2 separate regions of the Homo sapiens genome follow, and region 1 is linked to region 2. Evidence: promoter capture Hi-C in 16 types of primary human blood cells and fetal thymus (Javierre and others, 2016). All regions are on one chromosome and are shown on one strand. The core of a region is centred on a gene start or on the middle of the fragment in contact, and the rest is flanking DNA. Distances in the headings are between cores, read along the strand shown. Region 1 overlaps NBDY (negative regulator of P-body association). Region 2 holds the start of KLF8 (KLF transcription factor 8).

What was found. Contacts are between HindIII fragments. The CHiCAGO score rates a contact against its expected background, and 5 or more counts as called.
Region 1: a fragment that was not itself captured here is called in contact with the fragment with the promoter of KLF8 in region 2 in 4 of 17 cell types (M0 macrophages, M2 macrophages, M1 macrophages and 1 more); the score reaches 7.3 in M0 macrophages.

The regions. Positions count from the first base shown.
Region 1 is chrX:56,761,847-56,765,273 of GRCh38, reverse strand. All of the region lies in intron 2 of NBDY (negative regulator of P-body association), which reads right to left. Among named protein-coding and RNA genes, the nearest start is that of NBDY, 34 kb to the right of the region's middle. RefSeq lists enhancers at 658-1,017, 1,013-1,514, 1,478-1,597, 1,618-1,667. The HindIII fragment of the contact is 2,994 bases long and covers 1-2,811 here.
Region 2 is chrX:56,231,008-56,234,184 of GRCh38, reverse strand. It overlaps KLF8 (KLF transcription factor 8), which reads right to left and starts at 1,829. Exons shown (of 6, transcript NM_007250.5): 1 at 844-1,829. The coding sequence starts at 850. The HindIII fragment of the contact is 3,283 bases long and covers 419-3,177 here.

The sequences.
Region 1 (3,427 bases), core at 65-2,564, 530 kb before region 2:
AGAGATAATCAGCCACCCACTGCAATATGGAGACAGGGCAGAAAGGAGAGGGAAACGCCAATTTCTCCTCGCAGGGGTCAGCTAGAGTCCTACTAATTTCCTTAGGAAAAGTAAGCCTGTTTTCCCTAACGGTGTCCCCGCGCCCAGCTGACCCTGCCTTCCAGTCTGCTCCTGGAGCAGAAGTGGAGAAAAAGTAAAGAGAATGAAGAAGAAAAAAGTGAAGGGAGAAAAACTCCAAAAGTACACAAAGAATCAGTGAGCAATGAGATTGACAGCGAACTGCAATGCAAAGTGCCTCAGATGGACAGCTGGCAGCACTATGAGTGGCCTCTTGTGGCCTCACAGAGGAAGAGCCACCAGCCAGGAGAAAGCATCAGCCCCTCAAGCCCGGGTCTGCACCGCGTGGGCACAGAGGCCTGTTGGGCCAGGAAGCTGCCCTGCTCCCTGTGGCCCCCACCCCTACCCCATCCTACTGTTGCCGGTTCCCCCAAAGTGACCACATAGATGGGAAGCCCTGCTGTAGGTGAGATGGGTGCTCCTAGGCCAGTTTCTTTTTTTTTTTTTTTTTTTTGGTGTTTGTTTTGGTTTTTGGCACCAAAAACAGAAAGAGGGAAAGAAAATGGGGGAAGGGAAAGACAAGACTGCTGTTTGTGGAGCCACATTGCCATCTAGTGGAAGTTGTTTCTGAACACAACAGGATGCACGGACACCTGCCTTCTGCCAGGAACAGAGATCAGCGAGGATGTGCTTAGACTATGTCTAAGCCTGGGTTTCCCCCACCGGGGTTCTGAGCCCTTGAAGGAAGTGTACCTGGCATTGGGACGCTTTGGAGAAGCAACTACTCTAGAGGCCCCAGGACAGAACAGCCAGGCAGCCCCAAGACCAGTCAGCCCAGAGGGCGGAGCTGGCCCGGCAGCCATGTTGAGATGGACATAAACGAAGCCACTGGCCGAGACGGGGGCCGTTTACTCTGGTGTCTTTTGTGGGGAGTTCCGGGGTTCCCTTGGCTGGAGCCACGTGTTGGCAAGGGGGCCCCGATCCTCCCGGGGAACAAAGGAGCTTCGGGATACTGGAGACGTGGCAACCCAGGACCAGCAGTACCTGGAGATGACCAGGGGAACCCATGGTGGGTCGCCCCTACCTGCCCTTTTTTTCGGAGAGAGCTGTGGAACCAGGGAGGCATCCTGGGAATGAGCACAGGCCAAGGGCCAGCTTGGAGTTCCTCTCTTGTCCTGCTTCAGCCTGGGGGCTCCATGCCGCCATCTCTTTTGCGCTCGTGGGGTTTCCCCAGCACTTGTGCCCAGCTGCCTCCGGTTTCTAGATACAGTTTCCGCTTGATGGCAGTATGGCTCCACAAACGCCAACTACAACTGTAACCCTGCCACTTCAACTCCAGGGCCTCCGCCTTTTCCCATGTGAAAAAAGGTAAAGAGGAAAGAGAAACAAAAAAAAAGACAGAGGAGTGAAAGGAATCAGTCACCTGGTCCCAGATTGATCACCAAACTCATGGGACCGTGTGACCAAGGACCAGGACCAGTAGGCTGGAGATCCTGTGGGAATCCTGTTTAGGGAGCCAGCCTTTGCCCTTCCTTTGGCTCTCTGCAGGTTTCATGGCTCTTGCCCGTGCAGAAAGTAAACAACAAAAAACATGATCATTACTGGGACACCACAGGAGGACTAGGATCATAGGGCTACTGCCCCAGGACAAGGTGCTGGTCACCCAGCTGGCTTACACAAGGTTCTGCTGCAGGACTGGGGGTCCTACGAAAGCCTGGAGCTCCAGGTAGAGTTTACCGCCTTGGGCTGACACATGGAGGTCATCAAAATAGGTGGACTGCTCAACTGGAAACCACAGGGCCTGAAGCAGGAGTATCTCTCAGAGAGGACACTCAGCAACTTGCTCAAGTCTGACTCTGCTCAGGCTGTCCTGGGTTTCACACAGATGGGGGTGGGAGGAGGGTGGCTCAGGGGTGCTGGGGAATGCCACCACACACCACAGATTCTTATGGCATCACACAGGGCCAAGGCTCCCAAGGGAACTCTCTCTGTCTCTAACACAAAGTGAGGTTCCTTTTTAAGCAGCTTGACCCAGGATGCTCCAGTTTTACACCAGCTGCTGGATCCTATCTGTTAACAGACTTCCCACATTGATTCTCAGGAGAAGGCGAGAGTTGCCCATCAATCAATGGCATGATGGCCCAGGCCTGGAGTCAGGAATTCTCCCCTGTCTCCTGTTCCCTTTGCACATTTAGAACCTGTGTGGGAGAAATTGTAGGCAGTCTCGTGCCTGTGGTGGTGTGTATGTGTCTGTGTGGGAGAATGCTTGGGCCTGCACCCCTGTGCCCCTGTGAGGTTTCTTGTTTGTGTGTCTATGTGTGTGTTTGTGTGTGTCTGCATGTGTCTCTGTGTGCGGGTGTGTTTGTGATTTCATTTCTGAGGTCCCTAGTGAGTGTGTGTATGTGTATCTGTGTCTATGGTTTGTGGGTGCCTTCCTGTGTGAGAGTGGGTAAACTGGCACATGGCAGAGACAGCCTGCCTGTATACACTGAAATCCGGATAGTTGTGTTCACATGGCTTGACTGGAAGGAGAGGAAATGGGGGAAAACTTGCTGAGGCTCCTACTGGCCAAGATTACATTATTAGATCGTCTTCAAGGAGAACAAGGTAGAAGGATGAATCGTGAGGTACTGGTAGGAAGTGCATTCAGAATGACATTTCACTTAAAAGTAACACATGGGTGGTTTTTTAGAGGACCAGAGGAACTGAACATGTGACCTTCATCTCTGCTCCTTTCAGAACAAAAGTGAAGCTTTCTCCTTGCCTAGCACGCAGAGGGACATCCCCCATTACCAAGGAGCAGAAGAAGCAGTCTCCATAGAACATTTGTCTCGCCAAGATCTGAAAGTGAAAGGAAAAGAGAGAGGAGGAGGAGGAGGAGGGAAGAAAAGAAGAAGAAAAAGGAGGAGGAGGTGGAAAGAAAGAAAGAAAAGAAAAGAAAAGAGAAAGAAAGAGGAAGAGGAGGAAGAGGAAGAAGAACCAGATGGAGAAAAAGAACAAGAAATGGCAGCTTCATGCCACCTCAGCTGTCCTGAAGGATAGAGTTCATGGGTGCCTCAATGCGTGGTGACATACATAACGAGTGACAAAGAGACAACAGTGACATCCCAGTGAAAGGACACACCACCAAGAAGCTTCTTGTTGATGGGATCCCTTGTGAGTCGGATCAAAAGCTTTGATCCACAAATAGGTCTGCAGGGGCTACAGAGGACAAAGATGCAGGCTAAACCATACCCTCTGGATGTCATCTGCAAACCGCAAGGGGCCACGAGCCCCTAGTCTACAAGGCCAATGAAGGGTAGGACCCCAGAAATGGGAGGAGAGAGGAAAAACGGAGAGGAAAAGGACACCAGGGAAAGGAGGTAATCAG
Region 2 (3,177 bases), core at 580-3,079:
TAAATGCGTTTCTTCACGATGAATATAATACCAAAAGAAATAAGACATGGTGCCTTTGGCCACCTGTTTGGATGTGATTTATTTTTTCCCAAATTCTTAGGGTTAAAAAAAAAAGCCCACAAAAAGACAGCTCCGCCAAGTGGCTAAACAAATGGATTCACTTCAGCAATCACAGCAACTCGGCCCAGTCAGTCTTCCACCTACACAGACGAACCAACTGCCTTGGCCACGTCTTAAAGGGCCGGAGCAGAGCCTAGGCTCTGGCTTCCTTCTCCAACCAAGCTCAGCCCCTCCTTAAAGAGCTGGCACGCCCAAAGCAGCTCCTCCCCCGCAGCTGCTTCCAGGCCTCACTCTGTGCCTCCAATAGCCTAACTTTGCACCTTAAACCACTGTCCCCTCCTCCTTCTTTTCAGAAGCTTCTCTAGGTACCCGCTATGGCTTCAGGGGGTTACCTGGGAGCTTTGGCCTTGTGAATCCTGTTCTCTCTGGTTGTGACTTTGGCTGTGTGGGGTTAAGTCAAAGACAATCCTTACCGCTTAAGGAGTATTGGGAGTGCCGAGCCAGGGGAGACTAGACTAGACAAATCCATCCATTCTTGCCCCCTTTCACTTCTTCCACCAAGCTCTCTCCTCTCCTTCTTGGCCTTTCTTTGCCCAGCCCTTTAGCAAAGTCATTTTCCCTTGAGTTTCATTTGATTCCACATAGTGTTCTTAACCTTCCGCTCCCGCCCCCACTGCTGAAACCCCAAGTGGGGTGTGTGGGGGGAGCAGGGGGACTGGGAGGGGGATAGAATCTAGACGAAAGAGGTGGGAGTGGGTGGGTATTAGTCCCAGAGTCACTTACCGACCATGTCACTAGCTGAGGACTCCTGAAGTGTCCAGAACTCATGCCGTCCTCCGGGAGGCTCATACTCCTGAGCTGATCGCAAGAGAGCTGTTCCCCTCACACCCGCCCCATTCTGACATAGCGCAGGGCGACGCGTTCTCGTCTTCTCGTTCTTGGGCCCCCACTCCCCTATTTCTCCGGGCTGGAAAATGAGGAGGGGGTCGAAAGGGGAGGGAGTCGATTCAGACCCAGCTGGGCCACTCTCGGAACAAGGGAAACAAAGCTCTCAAGCATCCAACCCAAAAATCAGGGGCCGGCAGAGTAGACTTCCTAAAAAGAATCCTCCCCCCTGCAGCTTTTCCTTGGACAAAAATAAAGTGGGTTCGCTGGGCCGAAGTGGCCAGAGCTTAAGGTCCTCCGTTCCCCTTTTACCTCTACCAATTCAGTTCCGGCCAAGCCCGCTCTCCACCCATCCTCTGAACTCCACACACCCTTTAAAAGGAGAGGGCCGGGGGTGGGGGCTATGAAAACCAACCCAACCCCCAAAGCGCTACTTGAACATAAAGTTGAGGCGGAGAAGAAATCCTTCAAGACAGGAACCCACGAGGAGATACCACAAGAGGATCCCTTCACCGCCGCCGTTGCCGCCGCACACCCCAGCGCCTTCCTAAAAAGAAAGAAGGGAGGAAAAAAATGCCGACGATTGGTAGAATCATAGAGAAGAACACCAGCCCCAGGGCAGGGGCTTCAGCGAAAAATGGCAGCAACTCGTGCGGGTCCTCTGGGGCGGGGTTTCTTGGAGGCACCTAGCTGCCCCACGGGGTACCTCGCGCCCCACGCGAGTCAGAACCTAAAGTGCTCTCTGGGCAACCTGAGTGGGTAGAGTGATTCCGTCTTTCTCTGGCCCTGCTAGGCCCAAAGGAGAGGTGTGACTATCGTGAGGACTCCACCTAGGGTGGAGTTCCTTAAAAAGGACAGGCGGCCGCTAGAGGAGAGTGCAAAGTGGGAGGAGGTGGAGAAGGGTGGGGCTGAGAAGGAGGAGGGAGGAAGGAGGGGGTGGGGCGGGGCCCTGGGCCGACAGAGCTGGCCTCGCCTCCGGCGGCCGCCTCCCTCAGCCTCCAGCAGCGGCAGGTATAATTCCAATCAATTTCACTTCCTTATCTGTCCCAAAATTAAGGCTTGCAAGCACACTGCTTGATTACCTATTTACTCCGGTTATGCTAATTCTCCAGGGGAGGGTGGTGAAACGGGTACTGGGATTGGGGCTGGGGGCTGTCTAAGAGGGAAAGGAGAAAACAAAAAAGCTGACAACTGGAAGCGATATTTATCCTCCTACCTCTCCATGGTAACACGAACAAGGACAGCGAGGTCACAGTGTCTTCTCAGGGAGGAAGCTAAAAGGAACGGAGATTGGAGCTTGGTGCATTTTCTAGCAAGAGATAAGCCAAGGAGGTGAGGGCGAAGGAGTAGGTGGGGAAGAAGAAGGAGTTGAAGATGATCTGTGAATACAGCGTGGCCCAGCAGGGAGACTTAAGAAAGGCTTTCTCAGTCTCCCAGATACCAGACCTCTAAGAATAGAGTTCTCAACCCCCTGAGACCGCCTCTCAGCCAGGCATTGGCGAAGATCCCCGTAAAGCTGAATCCACAGGATAGGAGCCATGTTTCCAGGATTTCTTTACGCTTGCCTGAAAGTCTCTCTCTAGCTCATTTTAATGGGAGGCCAGGAAGTCACAAGCAACCACAGCCCATTTTCAGTGCCTCTTCCCTACCACAATTCTTTTAAAGAGGAGGAAAAAGAAGAGAGACAAGAAACAAAGCAGAGGGAGGAAGAGCAAAGAGACAGGAGAAATAATAATATCTGCCATGTATTCAGCACCTAATATGGGCAAGTCCCTGAGCCAGGTGCTTTTACATTCAACATTTCCCCATTTAGTCCCAATAACAACCCTGGGAACTAGGTACTGTTATATTCTCTGTGCCCTTTATTTAAAAAAATAAGGAAACGGAAGGCCTCAGCCCAGTACTTTCGAACACATAGGTCTACTTACTTAGTTGATATTTCTGCCTGAATGTCTTCTGTGCATCTCATCTACCTTCCTTTCCCCAAAACACTCTGTTCTTCCTCCTGTAGTTCACCAACTACCTGAATGGCACCACCATACATCCAAGGCAGCACCCTGGAACTCATCCTTTAACCTGCTGTGATCTGGCCTTTGTCTGCCTCTCAAGCAGCAGAGATTTTGCTGTTCTCCTGGGCTTTACCTGGATTACAAATCCCTGGGAATTCCAAGCTGTTTCCAATCTCTATGCCTTGGGTTGCTTTACTTTCTCTGACTGAAATAGACTAAGCTC